6 separate regions of the Homo sapiens genome follow, and all the other regions are linked to region 5. The links are contacts of gene promoters, found by promoter capture Hi-C in human tissues and cell types (Jung and others, 2019). All regions are on one chromosome and are shown on one strand. Each heading gives the region's core, a stretch centred on a gene start or on the middle of the fragment in contact. The rest is flanking DNA. Distances are from core to core; before and after follow the strand shown. Region 1 overlaps P4HTM (prolyl 4-hydroxylase, transmembrane). Region 2 holds the start of DALRD3 (DALR anticodon binding domain containing 3). Region 3 holds the start of FBXW12 (F-box and WD repeat domain containing 12). Region 4 overlaps ARIH2 (ariadne RBR E3 ubiquitin protein ligase 2). Region 5 holds the start of NCKIPSD (NCK interacting protein with SH3 domain). Region 6 overlaps ZNF589 (zinc finger protein 589).

Region 1 (4,151 bases), core at 1,430-3,929, 320 kb after region 5:
CACATCTCAGCCCTCAGCTCTGCCTCTTCACTCCCGCCCTCCCACTCAGGTGCCTTGCCAGCTTTCCAGTGCACCTCTCCCTCCGGCTCTGTGGACATCCATTGTCTGCAAGAGGTGGCCTGCACCTTGGGCCTTTACTCTCCATCTTAAAGTGAGGAAACAGGGCCCTCCCTCTTGTCCTGAAAGGCCTTCGGGGCACCGCAGCCAGGGCTGGGGTTGGCAAACAGTTCAAGGGCTTGATCCTGAGTTCTGCTGACATGGCCACCCAGAGGCTCTTGGGAGAAACCATTGTTCACAGGATAGGTTAGGCTGGGGAAGAGGAAACAGCCTTGGGATCTCTGGACTCTCTGGGAGAAAAGGCCACCAGAAGGGCCTCTGCTCCATCTCTTGCCAGGGTCTCTTTGGACAGACATAGCTTCCACGCCTCATTGGAGAGGAGGTTCCAGCCCGCCTGCCCCCAACCCCCAGCCTGAAGCGACTTGTCCACCTGCCCTATCTTGACATTCAAGAGCCCTTGACCACCATTGATGGTCTCCTGCCTAAGGGCACCTGGTTCCCTCTGTCTGGAACACTCTAACAAAACGATCCATTTTCCTCTCTGTGCCTGTCAGCGCCCAGCCCTGATAGGTGCTCAGGTGCTCAGCAAGGATTACTGAAGACCTGAGCCACCAGAGCAGGGCCCTGAGGGAGCCCTCCAGGGCCCTGCACCTGGAAGCCCCTGTCCTACCTGTCAAGGCATACAGGGGTAAATAGCAGAGGAAGAGGCGGGCATCGGGGTGGCACTCCCAGGCAAGCAGGAGCAGCCAGCTGACCAACTGCTGGATGGCCTCAGCTGCTGTGATGTGGTCCAGCAAGTTGGGCAGACGCATCTGTGTAGCCAATGTCGTGGCATAGGGCCATGGCTTGGGGAATGGGCATGCACCTCATGCAGCCCCAGGGAGCCCCTGACCCTGCTGTCATCCCACAGCATCACCAGTGTCACCAGCAGCCACAGCCCCTGCTCCATCACTGCCTTCTGTGCCTTGGCCTTAATGAACTGAGGTTGAGGGTTTTATAGGGCTGTTCCTGCACCCAGGGAGCCAACAGAGGAGATCCTGCAGGGGTTTGCACAGCTCCGAGGTGCCCGGACCCACCTGGTGAGGCCCCAACATGCTGACTGGGCTGTTTGTTTTTGATTAGCACACAGCAGGGGACTGTAGAGGCTGGAGGCACCTCCACTGGGCTTGCAGATTACTGGCACCTAATAAACTGAAGAAACCTGGGCCTGTGTTTTCTTTTCTTTTTCTGGCTTCCTTTTTCTTTCTTTTTAAATTTTGTGTGTTAAGCAATCAAGAGGTGACTCTGTTGATTTGCAATTTGATCTAATCCATTGTTCCACAGGGCTGTCTCCCCTTGGATCACACCCTTTCTGGGTTTGCTGGGGTCACGGGATCATGCAGGCCAAGAGTGGGGGCCTTTGTCCTATCCTCAGTGTTATCACATCAGGGTCACCTGCTCCTAGTAGCTGAATCTGGTCATGAGCATGGTTTCTGGAACACAGCAGGCTGGGTGGCCAGTGGCAAGGCACTGATTTCTCTGTGCTTGGGTTTCCTCTTAGATAGGAAGGTTGAATTAATGGGGCCTGGCCTCCTAGGGTAAGTATAAGGATTAAGGAGTTGATGTGTATGAAGTGCTTAGGACAGTGCCTTGGGCAGAGTCTGTGCTACCTAAGTATTTTCTGCTGTAATTACTATTAAAAACCACTCCAGGCCAGGTGTGGTGGCATATGCTTATAATCCCAGCACTTTTGAGCCCGAGGTGGAAGGATAGCTTGAACCCAGGAAATTGAGACCAGCCTGGGCAATATAGGGAGACTCCATCTCTACAAAAAATAAAAAAATAAAAAAAGCTCCAACCCTGGTGCTGAGTGACCATTTTCCTTCCTCTTGGCAATGACTGGAACTTTGTGCTGGAAGTGTAACTGAGAGAAGCGGCAGGCCACTCCGCAGGTAGCAGTGCTGCCCTTCCTCCAGTCAGCTCCTCTGCGTGCTTCTTGTCCTCCAGTGAAGACCGCTCTCCCAGGAACAAGGGAAGGAAGCAGGGCCCATGCTCCTGCTCTGGAAGTGTCTGGGGCTACCAGAATGTGGGCTCCCTAGATGTGAGGCTCAGGTTCTAGCTCCACCAAGCCACCTACCAGCTGTGCCTGGTGTGCAGGCAGCCAGCCACTGAAGCCAAGCCCCAGGCCTGACTGATCTTTACTCAGGGGTGTAGAGGCATAGAGTAGGCACTAAGTGAACATTTGTACCAGGGAAGGAATCAAGGAAGCAAAGGACACCTGGGACATCTTTTCAGAGACCAGTATCTGCCCAAAACCTGAGTAACCCTCACTGATCTTCCAGCACTGGGCAACTCAGCCCTGGTCAGATGGCCAGCACCCATCTTTGCAGGAAATTGGAGGGGAAGGCCCTTGGACTGGCCTGAAACATTGGATGTCTTGTGCTGTTTTTATTTGAATAATGCTGAAAAGTTAAAATGAAAGCAAGAAGCAGCCACCATCTCCCCACTTTAAATATTTATACCCAGTAAAAAGTAGCAATCAAGCCTCTGCCCTTCAGGATCACTCTCTAGCCTTCAGTCCCAACCCAAAGATGGGTCAGCCCATATCCAGGTTAGCTCTGGCTCACCTCCCAGGGCTCTCCTGGAAAATGTGTGCTCTCATCATCAAGAGAGGTCCCACATTTCCAACGCCAGCCAGCCTTTGCAGGACAACTCAATCTTGACAAGTCAGAATCAAGGGGTCTGTAAAATCCTCCATCCTCCAGACCTGGTGGCCACTGAGGGACATGCAGTACCCCAGGAACCCTGAAGGGAGGAAGGTACTGGGTGCACCAGCGCCCTGGCTCAGTCCTTGGCCTCACCCACCTCCTCTTCTGGCAGAAATCCCCGGCTTCCTGACTGATGAAGAGTGTCGGCTCATCATCCATCTGGCGCAGATGAAGGGGTTACAGCGCAGCCAGATCCTGCCTACTGAAGAGTATGAAGAGGCAATGAGCACTATGCAGGTCAGCCAGCTGGACCTCTTCCGGCTGCTGGACCAGAACCGTGATGGGCACCTTCAGCTCCGTGAGGTTGGAATCCTGGGACCTGAGTAGGCTCAGGGTGGGAGTGCCCAGAATCACCTTTCTGGTGGCCAGGTCACTTGTCCAGCCCAGGCCTGGTCCCAAAAGTCAGATACTACCCAGACCTGCCTGGGCATGCCCAGACCCAGGAGGTCCCCTTTCCCTCTGGAGAGCTCTTGGCTACCCTGGGAACCTCAGAAGATGGCAGGAGAATCCACCTGGGGGTGATGGCATTTATCACCATAGTTTTGGAGGGATGCACCTCTGTAGCCTGCATTCCTTGCTCTCATGGCTGGGGGCCCCACAGAACTCATGGTGGATGGGGTGGCAGCTCTGAGGTGGCCAGCAGCCTGCCTCTCTCTCTGCATAACTCTCACACACTCTACAGCCAGGCTGGAGGGCCAAGCTTCTGAGAGAAGTCTGGCAGGGTGGTGGTGCGGGGCACTGCCCACACAGAACACCCCACTGAGCCTGGTCTTTCTGAGGGATCTGGTGGTCATGCCCTAACCAGGTCTCCCCCTGGTGCCTGTTCTCCCTTAACACCCAGGACTTGGCTTTCCCCATCTCACCCGGAGTATCTGAGTGGGACACAGGCCTGTCCTTCACTCTGCTTCCAACCAACAGTGCTCTCCATGAAGGCCACGGGGCCTTAGTCCGGGAATGCAAATGGCCTACGCCTCTTGACCCCCAGCCCCCGGCCTTCTCCTCAGATGCTCTGTACCTTTCTACCTGCACTCACTTTGGCCCAATGGGCTCTGCCCTGTGTCCTCATCCATGCCCTCACCTGAACACTTTGCTCCACAACAAGCACTGGGCCATCTGTTCTCTGCTGGCTCTCCATCACTGGGGTCACCCACTGAGGGACCCTCTTATGCTTTAGGTTCTGGCCCAGACTCGCCTGGGAAATGGATGGTGGATGACTCCAGAGAGCATTCAGGAGATGTACGCCGCGATCAAGGCTGACCCTGATGGTGACGGTGAGCTCACACCTCTGCACAGTCCTATCCCCGTGAGCCTCCTGCCCACTCCCAGGTGCACAATTTTGAAAACTTG
Region 2 (3,966 bases), core at 499-2,998, 330 kb after region 5:
CACAGATGAGGTGCTTCTGTCAGAAAGATGTCAGGGGCTCAGCCTAGTTGGCGCTACTCTCCAGGAAGTCCCTTGAGGAGCCCAAATCTGGTGCCTCTACTCAGCCCAGACTCCCTCAAATTGGAACTGCCAGGTTGAGTGCCTCCGTCTACCCAGCCACTCAGGCTACGCATGGTTCATCCTTCTCAACCTGGTCTTCAGTGTTCTTGGGATGTGTCTACAGACCCCCCTTCCCCAGAGCCTCTGCACCTGCTGTACATGCCCTCTCAAGTCCAGCAACTCCCCCAAGGTCAAGTGTTGGTTTCTGTCAGCTAACAAGCCCCTCGGTGGGTTTTCAAGGGCCCTCTGAGGTTGGGGGTTAGGTGGTGGGGAGCTCCACCATCATTATTAACCTACCTGTCTGAGTGGAGCCTTGTCAACCAACTTCTGCCAAAGCAGGTCCAACTTCTGTTGCTGGAACTCCTCCTCACAGCTAACAACATGTACAACCAGGCAGCCGCCTGTACCAGTATCTGAGGCCCCAGCCTAAGGGAGGACAATCATAACTGTGGAAGTACAGTATACTTGGTTTGGGAGAACCTACAGGGCTGGGAGTCACTAACCAGGCCTGGGTGGCTGTCCTCGGGCCAATGCCATAGAGCCTCTTGCAGCTCAGCCAGCACAGAGAGGAGATCCTCAGTCACTGAAAAGAGAACAGACAGGTGCTGAGACTGACAAGAAGCAGAGATGTGCCCCTAACCCCCTCCTGCCTTTTCTGGCCCTGCTAGGCTTCAGGTCCTACCCAGACAGTTGTCCAGGTTGGGGTCATAGCCAGCTGTGCGGCCCTGTTCTTCCACCAGCTCCTTCAGACACAGTCTGCCTAGGATGCCAGGGGACAGTGTCCTCCCGTCATTAGCAGAGGTAAGTTCTTCAAGGGCGTGGCTCCTCAGGGTGTGGGAGGAAGCTCTCTCCGAGGCAGCGGGCCAGTCCACCCGCAGTTGCTGCAGGAAGGTCAGCATGTGCGGATCCCGCACAGCTGGCACTAGGCGCACGCACACCCTGCGAAGGGAGGGCGGCCGCCTCAGTCTGAGCACCTGGTCCAGCTCGCCACGACTTCCCACCTCCAGCCGCAGTCCCCACGGGCGGCGCCGCTCGCTTTCTAGGTACCCGGCAGTCCCACTTTCTCCATTCCGGCCCCGCGGCCCCGCTCACCCGTGAGCGCGCAGGGCTCGCGCCAGGTGATCGGCCACGAGCACCGTACGCAGCTGGCTCAAGCGGAGTGCGCAGGGGGAGCTGCGCAGTGCTGGGCAGTGTAGTAAGACGCGCTGGCCCAGCGAGGCAGGCGAGGCGGGCGTGGCATAGGCGGCCACGGCGCTGAGGACGCGCTCGAAGACGGCGGACCGCTGCAGTTGGAGAGACAGACCCGCGGGGGTCGGCGCGCAGCGCAGCACCGGGGCCACACCGGGGCCCTGCAGGCAGGCGAGGGCATGGAGCAAATGCTCCGGAACCTGCGGGAGAACGGGCGTGTAAAAGAGCCACGGCACGGGGCCCATCTCCCGGCCGCACGGCCCCGCCCGGCTCACGCCCACCTGGCCGTCATCGAAGCGCGCCTGCAGCGCGCGGTGCGGTGCCAGAAAGTCTCGGGAACGCAGGTGGCGGGTGCGCGTCTCCTTGATCCACACCGGACCGCCTGGCCCCAGGGCCGCGTTGAGGGCCCCCAGCGTCTCCCCGACCCCAAGGCGCCTGGTCGCCATGGTGACCGGAAGGAGTAAGCGGAACCGGAAAAAAATTTAGGGAGGTGGAACTTCCGGAAAGGACCGACTAGCTGGGGCGGGGATGCGGCGGTGGTCCCCGTAAGTGGACAGGTGCGCCAGTGGTAGCCCTGTCGGCTGCTTTCGACCTACCGCCCCCAGCGCCCCTTCCGCGTGGTCCACCTGCACAGCCGGGCCCCGGATCTGAAATCTCGGGGCCCTCCCTGGGCCTAGGGTTCTTTCGCTGTGACCCAGGCCTTAACCAGGAAAAGGATCCTCGCGACCCGGTGGGCGCTTAGACCGGGTACCGTCTCTTCTCATCGAAGTCTCACATGTTTGTTTTAATAACATTTCATTTCTCCCATTTTACACATGATGAATATTCGTCACTGGAATAAGGCAGTATAACATTAAGGCCACTTTCACGACCTACTTAAAATATCTCGTTTTAAAAAGAATAGTGTTCCGCGGTTTCAGGTTATTTGCAAGCATTTTCTCGTTTGAGATATGGGTGTTTTTTTGTTTGTTTGAGACGGAGTCTTGCTCTTGTCTCCCAGGCTGGAGTGCAGTGGCACGATCTCGGCTCACTGCAGCCTCCACCTCCCGGATTCACAGGATTCTCCTCCTCAGCCTCCCGAGTAGCTGGGATTACGGGCGCCCGCCACCACGCCCGGCTAATTTTTGTATTTTTAGTAGAGACGGGGTTTCGCCATGTTGGCCAGGCTGGTCTCGAACTCCTGACCTCGTGACCTGCCCGCCTCGGCCTCCGAAAGTGCTGGGATTACAGGCATCAGCCACTGCACCCAGCCCGGGTGGTCTTTATGCCCAATAAATAAGCACTCTGATACAGTTGGCGGTTTTCTTCTCTTGATACCTGAGAAATCACAACCATCATGATGGCTTCCAGAATTACCAGACTTTTTTTTTTTTTTTTTGAGACGGAGTTTCGCTCCTGTTGCCCAGGCTGGAGTACAGTGGTGTGATCTTGGCTCACCGCAACCTCCCCCTCCCGGGTTCAAGTGATTATCCTGCCTCAGTCTCCCAAGTAGCTGGGATTACAGGCACGCGCCACCACGCCCGGCTACTTTTGTATTTTTAATAGAGACGGGGTTTCTCCATGTTTGTCAAGCCTCGAACTCCCGACCTCAGGTGATCCGCCTGCCTCGGCCTCCCAAAGTGCTGGGATTACAGGCGTGAGCCACCGCGCCCGGCTCAGAATGACCAGCTTTTAATGTGACTCCTTTAACCTGGTGTGCTTTAACAACGATCCTTAAAGCTTCCTGTTTTAGGCAACAGCCATTTACGGGCCAACCAAATAATGCGACCATAATAGAAAATAGGCCTCAGTTGGAGTATCTTGCTCCTCTACCAATAGGAAAGGTCTTTTTCTTTCTCCCACAAAGGTTCCCAAATGTCTTCATTTCACTGTAACTTACTCACCCCCCACCCCACCCCCATTCCTTTTAATAGAGAAGCTAACTCAGTAGAGAGAGTTGGGAAATCCGGAGAGCAGGGAAACCCAGGGGCAGGAAAAGCTTGGCAAGGCCCCTTTCTGGGCCAGGGCTGAGGCCCTGCTGGGAGGCGCCGAAAGAGCACTGGGCGGACACGACATTCCCGATGGCTTCTCGGGTGCCCACTCAACGGGAGTGATCGTGTCATTCCAAAGCGCTTTCCATTCTGAAGGTGCATGACCTGGAGACAACTGCTTAGCAGGGTTGGGAACCCTCAGTCAAACTGAGGACTTCAGATACTCTCATCCACGAAGACGGTTGGGGTGGTTTTTCCCCAGGAAGTAAGAGGGCTATCTTTAGCGAGATGCGGGCTGAGGCAGCCCTGGGGGAGTCACTACCATTGCAGCCCTACCCAGAGGTCCTGGGTCCACCCTCCCTCGCCAATCCTCCCCAGGGTTCCAGAGATGGCCACCAGCCTCGGCTCTCCCACGTCTACACCCATCACCTCCAGCCTGAGGGCGCAACTGAGAGGAACTGAGACCCAAGCAGCTCAGTAAAGTATGTCTGGGGGTCAGGGGCACCCCATCTGGGCCAGGGCGCTGCTCAGGCAGGAGAGCAGGGGACGAAATCCAAGCGCAGCTGGAATGCTCTGGAGACAACAGCTGCTTTTGGGATTCCGTTGCCCGCTGTCCAGCCGTTGGCGGGGGGCGGGGGAGCTCCTGCCCCCAGGTCACTCGCCCTGGGGCCACATCAGAACCCGCCCATCCCCAGTCCCAGGAGGAAGA
Region 3 (4,344 bases), core at 1,845-4,344, 310 kb before region 5:
CCTGAGCCCCATATCTCTGGAGCCAGACAGAAGTCAGTCATGCCCTGCTTGCACTGGGGACAGTTGAGTCCCCCAGCCTGAGCCAGGGACAACAGGCTGACTTCTGTGGTCCTTCCTTATTTCTCTTAAAAATCTCTCTTTCATGTTTCCTCTCTTTGGTGTTTCCCTCTGTCACCATTTTAAAAAAATGTATCTTCTGTGTTCTTTCCTATTTAGTCAGCATTCTCTTTACTTCATTTCTTTGAACACATTTTGTATTTTTTTTTTTTTTTTTTGAGACAGGGTCTTATTCTGTTGCCAGGCTGGAGTGCAGCCTCCACCTCCTGGGCTCAAGCAATTCTCATGCTTCAGCCTCCTGAGTGGCTGGGACTACAGGACCATGTTTTATTCAGTTGTTTAGCATTTTAAACTCAAGGCTAAAAATATATCCACTTTCATTCTTCTCCTAATCATTCCAAGTTTTCCCAATTCCCTCTTCTCTTTGAGCCATTAGAGCATAACAGCTAAGAGCACTGGCTCTGGGGCTGACTGCTGGGGTTCAAACCCGGTGCCATTTCCCAGGGGTGTCACTGTGGGCAAGTCACCTAACCTCTGTATGTGTTGGCTCCCACCTATGTGTTCTAAAACTGGTGCCTGGGATTGGTTTTAATCAGGTGTGGCAAAGCGTGCAGACACAGCAATGATTGTCATGAAGGAAGAAGTTTATACTCACAGATCCCTATAAACAAGAGGCCTGGCTCCCCACGCAGGGCCACATGGAGAGCACCAAGGGCAGTCAGGAGGCAGAAGGGGCGGGGCAGCATAGGCCTGAGCCTTTATTGTGTTTTCTGTAAGAAACGAAGAGGGCAGAACAGGGTAAGCCTTTTAGAATGGGCTAGTTTAAATGGTTCTGGCTGGCTTTGAGGCATAGGGGCCGTCTCCAGTTGTCTGGTACCTGGCCCTGGGTTGATTTAGGGCAGGAGGAATATTAACTTGCTGTGTGAGAGTTTGGTAAAGGAGATGATTGTGGGTGTGGGCTGTAGCTTGGTTCGTTTGCATAAAAGGCACTCTCCTTTGCTATCTGGCTAGGCCTGGGAAGGAGAGTCTCTCCCCAGTCAGCAAGATCACAAATGCCAGAGCATCAAGAATACAGAAAATTAAAAATATACAGAGAATACAACTGGCCCTGTGATGGATGCCAGACAAATTCAGAATCTAAGAGAACACGGAGCACCCTGGCAAGGTGGCCAGTAATAGGACTTACCTCATCTAGCCGTTGTGAGGATTAAATAGATGAGCCCCTGTAAATTGTTTAGACGGGTGCCTTGCCTGCAGAAGGCGCCATGAAAGGTGTGCTGTTACTTCTCCCCTTGCTACGCCCCCTTTACTTCCCATGCTGTGTCGTCCCTCCCTCTCTGTCCTACTCTCAGGCTGCCCAACTCCTTATGGATCCCTCTTCTCAGGTTTCCCCAGCTGCCTGCTTTAATCTACTTTCTCCTAGACAATGTCCGGACCATTCTCTCACCTGCATCTTATCTTTTGCTTAGACTATTACGCAGTTACCATTTCACATCTCTCAAATTTTACATCTCTTAACTCTTGTGACATTTAGATTTGTCTTCATCTATTGTTGCAATGTGTCTTTCTCTGCCGCTTTTCTGGTAGCACCCCGCCACCACCACCCCCCAACACACCTTCCTGTTCCTCTATTTTTTTTGTTGTTGTTGTTGAGATGGAGTCTCGCACTGTCGCCCAGGCTGGAGTGCAGTAGCGCAATCTCAGCTCACTGCAACCTCCACCTCCCAGCTTCAAGCAATTCTCCTGCCTCAGCCTCCCAAGTAGCTGGGATTACAGGCACCCGCCACCACGCCCAGCTAATTTGTTGTATTTTTAGTAGAGACAGGGTTTCACTATGTTGGCCAAGCTGGTCTCAAACTCCTGACCTGGTGATCCACCCGCCTCGGCCTCCCCAAGTGCTGGGATTACGGGCATGAGCCACTGTGCCTGGCCTCTGTTCCTCTATTTCAAATTCATTCATTCACTCATTCGGCAATTTGCTTCAGTTTCCTTATGTTTGCCTCTTTCTCATCTGTCCTCTTTTCCATTTTATTCCTACTCTGTCTCAGTCCACTTACAGTTATATTTCCTATCTGTGTATTTTATAATATTTGTGCTTTAATACTTTTAAAATATCCTTTATTTTACTGTTTCTTCTCTTCCCTTGTCATATTTTAAAGTGTTTTATTTCTCAGCCTTCTATATCTTTGCATTAATTCTGTTCCTCTACAATAGAGTCCGTTCCAAGCTTTCTGTCTTCCTGTGTCCTTCCACGGCTCTGGCTCTCTCTGCATTATTTCCTATTTATGGAATACAAATCTTTTACCCTTGTATTTTTCTCACTCCTCTCCACACACCCCTTGACTCGCCTTTCCCCACGCCCCTCTAGGTGCTTCTTGGTCTTTGCTTTTCCTTTTTATTTCCTCACCATGTCAATTTGTATTTTTCCTCTCTCTTACTACTGTATCATAAATGGGACTCCCGACAACCACTCCCGTGTGTCTGCCTGGAGGCAGCAGTTTTAAGAAGGGTTGGCCACTGAGCCTCACAGAGGGACCCCTGTCTTATGCTGCAGCAAAGTACCATAGACTGGGTGGCTTACAAACAAATTTATTTCTCACAATTTTGGAGGAGAGAAGTCCAAGAGTCACCTGTCAGCACGGTCAGGTTCTGGTGTGGGCCTTCTTCCAGGTTGCAGCTGACACCTTCTCATGTCCTCGCATGATATGAACAGGGCTAGAGAGCGTTCTGGGGTCTCTTTTATAAGGTCACTGGTCCCATCATAAGGACTCTGCCTGTGACCCACTTACCTCCCAAAGGCCCCCCACCTCCAATCACACCAAGGGTTAGAATTTCAACGTAGGAATTTTGAGAGGACACAAACACCCAGGCTATGACACGGTCTTTAGAAAATCCCAGAATGAGTTGTCAGGTTCTTGGGAGATCTGTAACTGTGGGAAAGCGTCACATCCCAGGGAAAGCCACCAGCTGGGAGAGCCATCCCAGACAAGGCCTGCTCCCTTTGGGCGGACCTCTGTGGAGAAGCCAGCTTGGCACGTTCTTTCTCCTCCACTGCAAAGTTAAATGCGAGAAGGTAGAAACCCAGAGGCCATGCTGGCGCTGAGAGATGAGCCCCACTCACCAGATTCAAGATCCCAAGGTAGGCACAGACACAGGGCAAGCAGACTCCAATTCCAGGAGTTTGGAACTTAAATAGAGTCATAGAGACACTCAGATCTGATCAAAGTGAGTGCACTCGGTGACATTTCCTAAAGGGTTCTGACAACTTCATCTGCAACTGGGGCTGCCCCAGGTTCTGCACCTCCAGCTCACAGCGCACAGGTGTTGCTGAGCTCCTCTAAACAATGAACAGCACTAACAAGTGGGTTTAGGTAGGGATGCCTGCCAGCTGTGTGGATCAGGCCCCAGGGGAGAGGCCGGGGTGGAGGTCAGCCCGGGAGTCTGCACACCTGCAGCTTGTTTCTACCGCACACAGATGGGCATGGGTGAAAATCTTTACAAGTGCTGCAGACTTTGGCAAAGCCTATAAATTCAGAGCAGCCCGGAGAGGAGAAAGGAAAGTGGATGTGGGTTCAGGCCGCATGAAATGGAGATCCGATTGCCTGACTTAGCTTTGAAGCGAATCTTCTCTTTCCTGGACCTGTTCGGCTTGCTGCAGGTTTCCCAGGTGAACAAGGTAAAGGCCTTCCACCTCCCACTGCCCCCCAAGCCCGCTGCTTCTCTCGACCAGTTTGAGCACCACTTTGCAGAATAGCAGAGGGTTACACTGAGGCTTTGGGGGTTAGCATTCTTCATACTGAGGGCCTCATATTCTGTTAAACGAAAAGGACAAGCTGATATCCAGGAGTTGTGCTGACTAAACAGTCCTTGAGGCTCCCATTTCAAGCCCTAGGAAATCAACACTTCTTCCTGTGAATTCATGGGAATACCCAGTGCCTGTATTAGCAGTGATAGGTCTCTGTTGTTACCATTTCCTTATCTCCCCACACTGAGAGTGCTTTGAGAGCTGGAATCCCATCTGATTAACCTGTGCGGGCCCAGCTCCCAGAACAAATAATAGCAGAGGATTACCCTTGCTCTCTGATGTAACTGATTGCCTGCTTGTCTCTTCCTTTCTCTCCCATAGCATTGGAATAGGATTGCAGACAGTGATTACCTGTGGAGGTAAGGGAAGGGAAAGGGCAAGGAGGGAAGGGGAGAGGAGATCATCTGACTGCGCACCCATGCTGTGTCCCAAGGCCTGTGTGGCTGTGTTGTGAGATATACACAGGAAAGTTAGTGTGAGTA
Region 4 (4,219 bases), core at 1,683-4,182, 290 kb after region 5:
GAGACTCCCGGAAGTGGGTCTCAATCCTGCCTTAGGTCTGAGCTAAGGAGTCCTTCTCAGAGCACCTCACCATGCCCTTTGAGAGTCATAGCTCTGTGTTTGACATCTTGGGAGTTGGTAAACAAGATGTTTAAACAAGGTATTTAACATACATATCATAGCTCACTGCAGCCTCAAACCCCTGGGATGAAGTGATCCTTCTGCCTTAGCCTCCCAAGTAACTGAAACTACAGATGCCCAGCTAATTTTTTTAAATTTGTTGTAGGGGCCAAGTGTGGTGGCTCACACCTGTGACCCCAGCTTTAGGACCCCTGTGACTTTAGGAGACTGAGGCGGGTGGATCACCTAAGGTCAGGAGTTCCAAGACTAGCCTGGCCAACATGGTGAAATCATGTCTCTACTAAAGATACAAAAATTAGCCAGGAATAGTGGCAGGAGCCTGTAATCTCAGCTAGTCAGGAGGCTGAGGCAGGAAAATCACTTGAACCAGGGAGGCAGAGGCTGCAGTGAGCCAAGATCATGCCATTGCACTCCAGCCTGGGTGACAAGAGCGAAACTCCATTTCAGAAAAAAAATTGTAGAGACAGGGTCTTCCTATGTTGCCTAGGTTGGTTGGTCTCAAACTCCTGGTCTAAAGCAATCCTTTTTTTAAAAAACAGGGTCTCTCTCAGTTGTCCACGTTGCAGTACAGTGATGCGAACACAGCTCACTGCAGCCTTGACCTCCAGAGCTCAGGCAAATCCTCCTGCCTTAGACTCTCTAGTAGCTGGGACTACAGACACATAGCACTACACCTGGCTAATTTTTTCATTTTTTGTAGAGATGGGATCTCACCATATTGCCCAGGCTGGTTTCAAACTCCTGGGCTCAAGCAGTCCTCCCATCTCAACCTTCCATAGTGCTAGGATTACAAGCATGAATCACTGCACTCGGCCTACAGAAATATTTTATTTGTGCGTGTTAGAGCATGTCTTACAAAGGCTTAAGTTGAAGAGACATTCATGCAGTATTTCAGTATAACTCTGGGTAGGTAAAGGTTCCACAAGCCTTGAGAGATAACTTTACCTATTTGAAAAGCTCTAGGCCGGGCACAGTGGCCCACGCCTGTAATCCCAGCACTTTGGGAGGCTGAGGCGGGCAGATCTCGAGGTCAAGAGATCAAGACTATCCTGGCCAACATGGTGAAACCCCATCTCTACTAAAAATACAAAAATTAGACTGGGCGCGGTGGCTCACGCCTGTAATCCCAGCACTTTGGGAGGCCGAGGTGGGTGGATCACGAGGTCAGGAGATCGAGACCATCCTGGCTAACACGGTGAAACCCCGTCTCTACTAAAAATACAAAAAATTAGCCGGGCATGGTGGCGGGCACCTGTAGTCCCAACTACTCGGGAGGTTGAGTCAGGAGAATGGCATGAACCCGGGAGGCAGAGCTTGCAGTGAACCGAGATCACGCCACTACACTCCAGCCTGGCGACAGAGCAAGACTCTGTCTCAAAAAAAAAAAAAAAAAGAAAAAAGCTCTAATTCATGATTTGTTGGCTTGGATAAAAGGAAAATTTTGAACATGGGACCCTGACTTAATGAATATTTGAATGTTTTTCTTTTCCAATTTTAAGTTTCAAGTGTCGTCAGATGTATCACGCACCCACAGACTGTGCCACAATCCGGAAATGGCTCACGAAGTGTGCAGACGACTCTGAAACAGCCAACTACATTAGTGCTCACACTAAAGACGTAAGGACCGTATTTTACCTCTCATGGATTTGCCCTCCTTAGTGCTGCCCAGGGCCTTGCCTTGGAGATTTGCCATCTGAGAGCAGAATACCCAGAGCCCCAGGACCCTTCCTGAGGACTGGGGGTTTGGGGACCCTCACACAGAGTTGGCAGCTCGTAGCAGTTTATTATAGGATGCATTGGGTGCATATTTTCTTTATTATGATGAAATGCCAAAATGCCAGGAAAGGGGGACCCAAAGGGGGAGCTAATTAGAAGAGAACTAATTATGATTGAACGCCTACCAGCCTTTAACAGCCCTGAAAGGGAGGTGGTTAATAGCCACACTTGATACATATAAGGCTGTAATGCAAGCCCAGACCTGCACGATACTCATTTTGAAGTCTCCCATGGGAAAGTATGGCCTGTGGGCTCTAGGGGCCACTGTACCCTTTGTCAGTCACTCGCCGAGTCAGTGCACTCACAAGCACAGTTACGATAACGACATTATTAAACATAGTCGACTTCACGGCAGTGGGAGATCACAGCATCAGACTGGTGTCTTCATTGCTGCCTCAGGTTGCTGGCATCTCTCAAATGGGAGAGATGAGCTTTAGATGTGGTTTCCTTGCCCTCTTCTCGAAGCAGAAGTTCAGGCAAGCTGACCAGGACTGAATCCATTGTGGCAGCTCCTGTGCTTCTTTGGCAGTCCTCTCAAGAAGGCAGGCTTTCTGCTGATTCAACTTGTGCTTAATCTGAGTAGCTTCATGGCAGGGGCAGATGGTGGAAGACTTAGTGGGGTTCAGCTGGTGCTTGAAGCATTTCAAAGCTAAATGTGCTGACCTCATTTCCTTGAATTGCTGTTCCAGCCTCAGCGACCTGCCACATTTAAGTGAGGTGCTCCTCCCCAGAAGTGCTCACACCATGAGCAACTGGGCACAGGTGCCAGGAGCTTTGTGTAATTTGTCTTAAAACCAACCTGGTGGTGTGTGAGCCTAATGGCACCCTTCTGTCTCCTCAGTGTCCCAAGTGCAACATCTGCATTGAGAAGAATGGAGGCTGCAATCACATGGTGAGCAGAAGCCTCTGCAGTTTGCATGTGTGACATGGAAGCTTTGGTCAGTGTGCCCTTAACGTGTTTTCTTCTGTTTCCCTCTGACAGCAATGCTCCAAATGTAAACACGGTGAGTTCCAAGCTTGGTGTGTAAGGCCCAGTGGCACTTTCTTGTGGTTGGGTCTCCGTTACTATTTAAGTGAGTACTTCTGCCATGAAATGACAAAACATAGAAGAACCTCAGTCACTTAACAGTCACAGTAACTGGCATAAAGTAGCTTTTTATTTTTATTTTCTGTTTTTTGGTCCCTCTTATAATCCCACTGCTATCTTGCTAACACATATAGTCAGAAGTCAAGTTTGGGATAAACCTCATGATCCTCAGTTATCCAAGAAGATGATTTCAGGGTGTTGCTTTCATTTTTTTGCCAAGGCAGGTAAGTAGCTTGGGGCTTATCTGTGCTACGTTGTAGATACCTTTACCAGAAGTAGTAAAATAATGGTTTTCCCTTGCCGTTTTACAAAGTTTCTAGTGGGGGTTTTGATTTAGCCTTTCAGACCTCCTTCATCCATCAGGAATAATTTACATAGCTAGAACCCATGTATGCCATCCGGCCAGGTCAACTGAAGAAACAGAATCCCTTCAAGTAGAAAATATGTCCAAGTGGGTCTTCTACGCAGCTGCTTTGATGCTCAACAGGAGCCCCTGACAGTTTCTTTTTTTTTTTTTTGGGAGAAGGAGTCTCACTCTGTCACCCAGGCTGGAGTGCAGTGGCGCAGTCTTGGCTCACTGCAACCTCCATCTCCTGGGTTCAAGCAGTTCTCCTGCCTCAGCCTTCCAAATAGCTGGGATTACAGGCATCTTCCACCACGTCTGGCTAATTTCTGTATTTTTAGTAGAGATGGGGGTTTGCCATGTTCGAGGCTGGTCTCGAACTCCTGACCTCAGGTGATCTCCCTACCTTGGCCTCCCAAAGTGCTGGGATTACAGGAGTGAGCCACTGTGCCCGACCGAGAATTTTGCTTTGTAAGGGCCTATGCAAATGCTATTTCCAGGAACCCTCTTTTCTTTATTTTTTGAGACAGAGTCTCAGTCTGTCGCCCAGGCTGGAGTGCAGTGGTGTGATCTTGGCTGACTGCAACCTCCACCTCCTGGGTTTAAGCAGTTCTCCCACTTCAGCCTCCTGAGTAGCTGGGATTACAGGCACTCACCACCACACCTGGCTACTTTTTTATATTTTTAGTAGAGACGGGGTCTAACCATGTTAGCCAGGCTGGTGTCCAACTCTTGACCTCAGGTGATCCGCCTACCTTGGCCTCTTAAAGTGCTGGGATTATAGGCATGAGCCACCGAGCCTGTACTTTTTTTTTTTTTTTTCCAAAGATGGAGTTCTGCTCTTGTCGCTCAGGCTGGAATGCAATGGTGTGATCTTGGCTCAATGCAACATC
Region 5 (4,096 bases), core at 1,591-4,090:
CAGCCCGAGATAGAACCCAGGGCAGAGAACCAATATAGCGAAAGCCTGGAATGCTAGACATAGCACAAAAAGTTGAACCAGAATATGGAATGGGGTTCTCAAACTGTATCACTCAGGGAGCTGAGGCACAGGGTGACCCCCATGCTGCCACATTACATATTAGGTCCTGATCAGGATTTTACCCCACAGCAAGGCTCTTGGCTAAGATGTTTCTGAAAATCAGAGGTCTAAAGCAAAAACATAGCCCAGGGGCTCCCAGCTTGCAGCCAGGAGCGCATACCTCGTCTATCCCTGGTCTTGGCTCAGAGCCCAGGTTGAGATGCCAAACAGGAAGTCTCCAGTATCTGGAATCCTTAATACATCACTCTGCATCTTGCTGATCTTTCACAAAACCAAGGTCATACCCCAGAACAGCCCTGTCCTTGTAAGGGCCCTCTGTAAGCCCTGGGAGCTGAGAATGGGTCAAAGGGACTTGCCCTCCCCAACCCTGCTGCTGGCCCTCATCCCCACAAGATGTCTCAGTAAGCTTCCAAACCCACCCTGGGAAGCAGTTCTGTGTTTGTGGCAAAGGATAAACATGAGAGAGGGGCCTAGCCCCTGTTCCAGGCTCTGTACTGCCATCCCCAACATTCCAGGGATCCAGTCTACTCTGCCTATCTGACATGGGGAGTGTAGGGTAGCAGCTATCAAACCAGCTACCCCCAGCCCTCCCCTGGCCCTGGCACACGTAGTCCATCAGGCTACATAGGAGTCCCGGAGCTGAGATGAACTCATTCCACCATGGGTTTGAGAAGCTTCCCTGATGGGCACAGACAGGTGGGCACAGAGGTCAGCAAAGCCCTCCAGGTGGTATGAGGTGTGCCAGAGTGCAGGGAGAGGAGACAGGGGGATAGAAAGACATGAAGACACACACACACACACACACACACACACACACACACACACAGAGAGAGAGAGAAAGAAAGGAATGGGGAAAGAGAGGAGCTCAGAGAGGAACGGAGAGGCAGACAGAGGGAAACAACGCAGAAAGAAACAGAGCCAAAGCCAGAGTGTGGGGGGAGCCGGAGGAAGAAACAAAAACACACACATGTGGAGTCGGAACGACACAGGCAGAGAGGCACAGAGTCGCAGCAATCCAGACAGAAAGAGACACGCAGAAAGAAACAGACAGTGACAGAGAAGATGGTAGCCTCTCTGCCCTCCCCAAACACCTTGCCCCACTGGTCCTGGCTGGCGGCAGGGGACTCACAGGCCCTTGACCTATGCCCAGTAGGGGAAGAGACAGGACTTTTCCTCAGAGGCCTTCAATGAGACCCCATTCCCAAAAAGGTTGGGTCTGACACACAGCAGCCATGGTGTCCACGGCCCCCACTCCCACCCCTGGCACTCCTAGATGGGATCACGCCAAGGGTCTATGAGGAAGCCCCTAGGCCCCCAGGGCCCATCCTTCCTGGTAAGACCAGATGACACTTCCAAATTTATCCCGTTATTTCTGTCCTGAACTGGGCTGGGACAGGATGTTTCCTAAAGGATAAGGACTAGGACGGGGCGGGGGTGTCTGGCACAGGCCCGGCAGCTCTGGGCCCTTCTTCCCCCTGTGGTCAGAATAGACCAGCTGGAGATACGCACCCCAACCCCCGCAGCAGGGCTACTCTTAGGGAAACAGGAACTGGGACTGCAGCTTCCACTGGAAGGAAATGGGGCCACGATCAGACCAGGAGAAGCTATAAGAACTCACTTCATCACAATGTGAGCAGTCCCCACTCCAGGCTGGGAACAAGTAGGGATGGAACCCATTTTCAAAGCAAGAAAGTTTGAGAAGTCAGGGTTGGGGAGTGGAGCAGACAGTGTCAGCAGGGGCATGGGTCCTTGGTTCAAATAAGGTTGGTAGAGACTTAAGAAGAGCTTAGAGGGTGGCTGAACACAGGCTAGTGAAAGACACTGAAGTACCAAAGCTTGGGTGTTACATAGGGGATGGAGGTGTCTATGGCTCTAGGGTCCAAGTTGGGGGGTTGAGGACCTGGAGAATGGCTAGGGAAACAGGTGGTGTCCAAGGTGGTCCAGGTCTCAGTGGTGGCTCCAACGGGGGGCAAGGCGCGGGGTTGGGGGAAGAAGGAAGGGAGGGAGGGAGGGAGGGAGGGAGGGAGGGAGGGAGGTTGGTTGTGGGGTCCTAGGAATCCAGAGAAGGGGCATATTAAGGATCTGGGGTCTCAGGGATTTGAATAATTGGCCAGGATTCGGTGGGGCTCAGGGTCGCCATTCAGATGGCGGACTCGATACTGAAGGGTCTGGGGTCCTGAGGAGTCTCAGTCCCAGAGTTAGGCTTTTGGTCGATCGGGAGTTGGTCTGTCAAGGGCCTGGTCTTTTGTGGGTGATGCTGACACTTGGGGTCTCAGTCCCCGTGGGTCCGGGGGTCTCAGGGTCAGGTTCTCAAACTCCCTGTCTGATAGAGGTCCTGGCCTCGGGTCCCGGAGAGGGTGGGGTCCCTGGGTCGGTTCCGCGGGGCTGTGAAGGGGTCCTGCCCCAGGGGCGCGGAGGCCGGGCGGGAAGGGGCGCACTCACCTGCAGGCGGCGCAGGTAGGCTGGCGGCACGTAGCCCGTCTCACCACTGCGCGCCCGCGCGGCCAGCCACCAGTGCGCGCTGCTTCGCTCTAGCACCAGGAAGGTCTCGCCCGCGGCGAACGCCAGCGCGTTGGGCTCCGCCGAGCGGAACGCGTACAGCGCGCGGTACATGAGGCCGGGCAGGGCAGGTGCAGGGAAGGTGGCAAGGGCTGCGGCGCCACAACGCCAGGCCGGGAGCGCCGAGCCGCGCCGCGGTTGTCCCGCCCCGTGACACACTACGCAGGCGCGCGCGCGCCCGCCCGCCGAAGCCCCGCCCCGGGCTGTATCGTTCCACGCATCGGAGAGCAGCGCCCCCGCGCGGCCCCAAGAGGTGCGGCGGGGCTGGGGTCGACAGCTCGCTGTCTCCTCTGGTCCCTCCCGGCTCCAGGCCCCTCATCCCCGGACACCGCACCCTCACTCCTCACCCCGGCCTCAGTTTCACCCGTCCAGCCCTCTGCTCCCTTTCCCCGCTTAAGTCCGAGCGCTGCGTCCCGTCCTACCTCCCGGTGAAAGCGCGCTCCGCTCGTAGCGGGTGCGCCCCTACCGCCCTGGGGCAGTGGGTCCCATCTACTAATTGCAAGGACGGCGACCTCGAAAGGATGATCTTGCTGATCCGACACTTGGAAGCCCCCGCGGGGCCCGGCTCTCGGTGTGTCTAGGCCTCACCACCTGTCTTCACCGAGTGCCGGTGGTGGCCAGTGGGGAGCAAGTGTGGGGAGAAGGGGGCCACAAAAGCAGAAACCAGGCGGGGCTATTCCCTGTCTAAAGCCCTCCCATCTTTGCTCCCCACCCCTACTCCTCCTCTCTCTTCAGCTATGGCTGGTTTTCTCTATATTGGGCCTTTGCATATTCTGTTCCCTCTACCTGGGACAATTTTCCCTTCCCTCTCCTATAGTATTTGTCCGTCAAGCTCCCACCCCCATCAATCGCTATCATCTTGCTGTGTTTTATTGTCTTTATAGGACTTAAGATTTGCGATGCCCCTTTCTGAGAGCATAGAGGAGGGCTGAAAGAGGGAGTGGGGTACCACGGTGGCCTTAAGAGCCTATTTGATCCACCCAGCTTTCCAGTCAGCCCAGATCTCCAGATATATGAAATCCGTGTAATAAGAGTGCCTGGAAGACCCAGGGAAGAGGCCCTCAGGGTCCTGGAGAGACTGTGGCTGAGAATGGTCCAGCTACGCTCCACAGGAAGCCCGAGCCCAGGAAGCAGGAGGCGTGTACAGGCCAGTGTGTGCAAGTTTTCTATTTTTATCTGTATTTATTTTTTGAGACAGGGTCTTGCTCTGTCGTCCAGGCTGGAGTGCAGTGGGATGATCAAGCTCATTGCAGCCTTGATCTTCCAGGCTCAAGCCTACTGTCTCTGGGACTACAGGCATGCACCACCACACTCAGCTTTTTTTTTTTTTTTTTTTTTTTTTTTTTTTAGTAGAGACAAGGTCTTGCTATGTTGCTCTGGCTAGTCTCAAATTCCCGGACTCAAGCAGTCCTCCCAG
Region 6 (3,968 bases), core at 442-2,941, 430 kb before region 5:
AAATAGAGACGGGTCTCACTATGTTGCCCAGGCTGGTCTCAAACTCCTGGACTCAAGCAGTCCTCCCCTCTTGGACTCTCAAAGTGCTGGGATTACATGTGTGATCCATTGCACTTGGCCTACTCTCTGCTTCTTTGAGAACAACTTTTTTTTTTTTTGAGACAGAATCTCCCTCTGTTGCCCACGCTGGAGTACAGTGATACGATCTTGGCTCACTGCAATCTCCGTCTCCTGGGTTCAAGTGATTCTCCTGCTTCAGCCTCCTGAGAAGCTGGGATTACAAGCATGCGACACCACGCCTGGCTAATTTTTGTATTTTTATTAGAGACTTGGTTTCATCGTGTTGGCCAGGCTGGTCTCGAACTCCTGACCTCAGGTGATCCGCCCTCCTCGGCCTCCCGAAGTGCTGGGATTACAGGCGTGAGCCACCACACCTGCCCCGTCTTTTGTCTTATATTTGTTTTGTGAATATTTTGTTCTAGCCTAGAGCCTGCCTATTCGTTTTCTTAACGTCTTTTGATGAGCAAGAGTTTTAAAATTTTGATGATGTTTGTTAAAACTATAAAATGGTTTTTTAAATATGAAATTTTTGTGTTTTTAGTGGAGACGGGGTTTCACCATGTTGGCCAGGCTGGTCTCAAGTTCCTGACCTCAAGGTAACCTCCCACCTCGGCCTCCCAAAGTGCTGGGATTGCAGGTGTGAGCCACCGTGCCCGGCCTAGATCAATTTCTTATGTAGCTAGATTCTCCAAGACCACCAGTTCCATTCTCCCTGTGAATCTTAATGGTGACTTGATGAATATGAATTTATCGGTTGATTTAGGGACCAGTGACTTTTGAGGATGTGGCTGTGCTTTTCATTGAGGCAGAGTGGAAGAGACTGAGCCTTGAGCAGAGGAACCTATACAAAGAAGTGATGCTGGAAAATCTCAGCACGCAACTGTAGTTCCAGCTACTCGGGAGGCTGAGACAGGAGAATCACTTGAACCTGGGAGGCGGAGGTTGCAGTGAGCTGAGATCACACCACTGCACTCTAGCCTGGGTGACAGAGCAAGACTCCATCTCAAAAAAAAAAAAAATTAGCTGGGCGTGGCGATGCGTACCTGTAATCCCAGCTACTTGGGAGGCTGAGGCAGGAGAATCACTTGAACCTGGGAGGCAGAGGTTGCAGTGAGCTGAGATTGCACCAATGTACTCCAGCCTGGGCAACAGAGTGAAACTCCATCTCAAAAAAAAAAAGAAACTGTTTAATTTAAGATCACCTTTAAGTTGCGGTGATTTTTAGTTTTTTTTTGGTGTGGTATGAGATAGGGATTGGCGTTCTTTATTTTTAAATTTGGGCGTTCAGTTCTTCCAACACTGTTTTTTTGAAAAGACTTTCCTTCCTTCATTGAATTCCTTTGATACTTTTGTTAAAAATCAATTGTGGGGCCAGGCACAGTGGCTCATACCTGTAATCCTAGCACTCTGGGAGGTCAAGGCAGGTGGATCGCTTGAGCCCAGGAGTTCGAGACCAGCCTGGGCAACGTGGCGAAACCTCATCTTTACGAAAAGTACAAAAAAATTAGCTGGAGTTACTCACCTGTAGTCCCAGCTATGTGGGAGGCTGAGGTAGGAGGATCTCTTGAGCCTGGGAGGTTGAGGCTGCAGTGAGCCATGTTCACACCACTGCACTCCAGCCTGGGTGATGGAGTGAGACCCTGTCTCAAAAAAAAAGAAAAATCAATTGTGGGTCTGTTTTCTCGGTGCTCTGTTCTGCTCCATTGAACTCTTCTCACATTTGTATTGTGCTCCTCACTAATGTAGTAGCTTTATGGTGAGTCTTAAAATCAGGTAGTGTAAGTCCTTAAATTTTATTATTATTATTATTTTTTTTTTGAGACAGATTCTCGCTCTGTCTCCCAGGCTAAAGTGCAGTGGCATAATCTTGGCTCACTGCAACCTCCACCTCCTGGGTTCAAGCGATTCTCCTGCCTCAGCCTCCCTAGTAGCTGGAACTACAGGCACAGGCTGCCATGCACGGCTAATTTTTTGTATTTTTAGTAGAGATGGGGTTTCACCGTGTTAGCCAGGATGGTCTCGATCTCCTGACCTTGTGATCCACCCGCCTCGGCCTCCCAAAGTGCTGGGATTACAGGCATGAGCCACCATGCCCAGCTGTCTTTTGCATTTTTATATAAATATTGAAATCTATCAATTTGAAATTGAAAGTCTTATCAATTTGTACAATGGGATTTTGATTGAATTGCTTTGAATTTTTATATTAGTTTGGGGGAGAATAATATCTTTTTTTTTTTTTTTTTTTTTTTTGAAACGGAGTCTCGCTGTCGCCCAGGCTGGAGTGCAGTGGCAGGATCTCGGCTCACTGCAGGCTCCGCCCCCTGGGGTTCACGCCATTCTCTTGCCTCAGCCTCCCAAGTAGCTGGGACTACAGGCCACTGCCACCTTGCCCGGCTAATTTTTTATATTTTTAGTGGAGACGGGGTTTCACCATGTTATCCAGGATGGTCTCAATCTCCTGACCTCGTGATCCACACGCCTCCCAGAGTGCTGGGATTACAGGCGTGAGCCACTGCGCCCAGCCATGAGAATAATATCTTAACATTATTGAGTTTTCTGGTCCATCAGCGCAGTATCTCTCCATTTATTTAGACAATTTTTTCCTCATTTATGTAGATCTTTATCTTAATAATCTGGGCGTTTTTTATTTTTATTTTTTGAGACAGAAGATCCCTCTGTTTCCCAGGCTGGAGTGCAGTGGTGCAATCTCAGCTCACTGCAGCCTCTACTTCCTAGGTTCAAGTGATTCTCTTGCCTCAGCCTCCTGAGTAGCTGGGATTACAGGCGTGCACCACTACACATAGCTATTTTTTGTATTTTTAGTAGATGGGCTTTTGCCACGTTGGCCAGGCTGGTCCCAAATTTCTGACCTCAAGTGATCCACCTGCCTTGGCTTCCCAAAGTGCTTGGACTACAGGTGTGGGCCACCATGCCCGGCCATCACCGTTAGTATTAATGAACCAATAATAATGGTGGTTATTAACTAAAGTCCAACTTTATTCAGATTTCTTTAGTTTTAATGACCATTTTCTGTCCCAAAATCCCATCCAGGTTATCATGTTACACTTAGTTGTCACGTCTCCAAGGTAGTACTAGTCATATTTTTCTTTTTTTTTTTTTTTTTTTGAGACGGAGTCTCGCTCTGTCGCCCAGGCTGGAGTGCAGTGGCACCATCTCGGCTCGCTGCAAGCTCTGCCTCCCGGGTCCACGCCATTCTCCTGTCTCAGCCTCCCGAGTAGCTGGGACTACAGGCGGCTGCCACCACGCTAGGCTAATTTTTTTTTGTATTTTTAGTAGAGACGGGGTTTCACCGTGTTAGCCAGGATGGTCTCGATCTCCTGACCTCGTGATCCACCCACCTCGGCCTCCCAAAGTGCTGGGATTACAGGCGTGAGCCACCGTGCCCGGCGCTAGTCAGATATTTTGTAGATTGTCCCTTACTTGGGATTTGTTTGATGTTTTCCTCAAGTGAGAGGATTGCTTGAGCCCAGGAGTTCAAGACTAGTCTGAGCAACACAGCAAGAACCCATCTCTATAAAAAATTAAGAAATTTGCTGGGATTGGTGGCATGTACCTGTATCCTAGCTACTTGGGAGGCTGCCGTGGGAGGATCACTTGAGCTCAGGAGTTTAAGGCTACATTGAGCTATTATTATGCCACTGTACTCCAGCCTGGGTGACAGAGCGAGACCTTATCTCTTAAAAAACAAACAAAACAAGCTGGGCGTGGTGGCTCATGCCTGTAATCCCAGCTACTTGGGAGGCTGAGGCAGGAGAATTGCTTGAACCCAGGAAGTGGAGGTTGCGGTGAGCTGAGATCGTGCCATTGCACTCCAGCCTGGGCAACGAGTGAAACTCTGTCTCAAAAAAAAAACTAAACAAAAAATCAGTCGATGTTTGTGTCGGTCA

The links. The method cuts DNA at HindIII sites, captures the fragments that hold promoters and counts their contacts. A contact is called where the count stands out against the background at its distance.
Region 1: a fragment that was not itself captured here is called in contact with the fragment with the promoter of NCKIPSD in region 5 in 3 of the 25 tissues and cell types used here (bladder, dorsolateral prefrontal cortex and mesendoderm cells).
Region 2: the fragment with the promoter of DALRD3 here is called in contact with the fragment with the promoter of NCKIPSD in region 5 in 1 of the 25 tissues and cell types used here (dorsolateral prefrontal cortex).
Region 3: the fragment with the promoter of FBXW12 here is called in contact with the fragment with the promoter of NCKIPSD in region 5 in 1 of the 25 tissues and cell types used here (spleen).
Region 4: a fragment that was not itself captured here is called in contact with the fragment with the promoter of NCKIPSD in region 5 in 1 of the 25 tissues and cell types used here (H1 embryonic stem cells).
Region 6: a fragment that was not itself captured here is called in contact with the fragment with the promoter of NCKIPSD in region 5 in 1 of the 25 tissues and cell types used here (thymus).

The regions. Positions count from the first base shown.
Region 1 is chr3:48,998,522-49,002,672 of GRCh38, forward strand. P4HTM (prolyl 4-hydroxylase, transmembrane) reads left to right here. Exons shown (of 9, transcript NM_177939.3): 3 at 2,917-3,107; 4 at 3,979-4,075. It overlaps LOC124906235 (a long non-coding RNA gene), which reads left to right. Exons shown (of 2, transcript XR_007095904.1): 1 at 1-151; 2 at 395-1,262. Among named protein-coding and RNA genes, the nearest start is that of WDR6, 6.8 kb to the right of the region's middle. The HindIII fragment of the contact is 8,927 bases long and covers 1-4,151 here.
Region 2 is chr3:49,016,832-49,020,797 of GRCh38, forward strand. DALRD3 (DALR anticodon binding domain containing 3) reads right to left here and starts at 1,749. Exons shown (of 12, transcript NM_001009996.3): 1 at 1,569-1,749; 2 at 1,192-1,487; 3 at 782-1,038; 4 at 603-682; 5 at 397-525; 6 at 1-16. The coding sequence starts at 1,733. It overlaps MIR425 (microRNA 425), which reads right to left and starts at 3,403; the gene lies at 3,317-3,403. MIR191 (microRNA 191) reads right to left here and starts at 3,878; the gene lies at 3,787-3,878. It also overlaps a transcript of NDUFAF3 not described here. RefSeq lists enhancers at 170-239, 525-1,296 and a silencer at 745-979. The HindIII fragment of the contact is 18,150 bases long and covers 1-3,966 here.
Region 3 is chr3:48,369,125-48,373,468 of GRCh38, forward strand. FBXW12 (F-box and WD repeat domain containing 12) reads left to right here and starts at 3,095. Exons shown (of 11, transcript NM_207102.2): 1 at 3,095-3,196; 2 at 3,560-3,733; 3 at 4,184-4,221. The coding sequence starts at 3,644. The HindIII fragment of the contact is 16,322 bases long and covers 1-4,344 here.
Region 4 is chr3:48,972,080-48,976,298 of GRCh38, forward strand. It overlaps ARIH2 (ariadne RBR E3 ubiquitin protein ligase 2), which reads left to right. Exons shown (of 16, transcript NM_006321.4): 9 at 1,620-1,737; 10 at 2,738-2,788; 11 at 2,879-2,900. Among named protein-coding and RNA genes, the nearest start is that of P4HTM, 16 kb to the right of the region's middle. The HindIII fragment of the contact is 5,340 bases long and covers 263-4,219 here.
Region 5 is chr3:48,683,075-48,687,170 of GRCh38, forward strand. It overlaps NCKIPSD (NCK interacting protein with SH3 domain), which reads right to left and starts at 2,841. Exons shown (of 13, transcript NM_016453.4): 1 at 2,563-2,841. The coding sequence starts at 2,733. RefSeq lists silencers at 2,349-3,068, 2,462-2,756 and enhancers at 2,953-3,684, 3,279-3,348. The HindIII fragment of the contact is 9,717 bases long and covers 1,375-4,096 here.
Region 6 is chr3:48,250,332-48,254,299 of GRCh38, forward strand. The region is part of intron 2 of ZNF589 (zinc finger protein 589); the gene reads left to right. Among named protein-coding and RNA genes, the nearest start is that of ZNF589, 11 kb to the left of the region's middle. The HindIII fragment of the contact is 4,886 bases long and covers 1-3,968 here.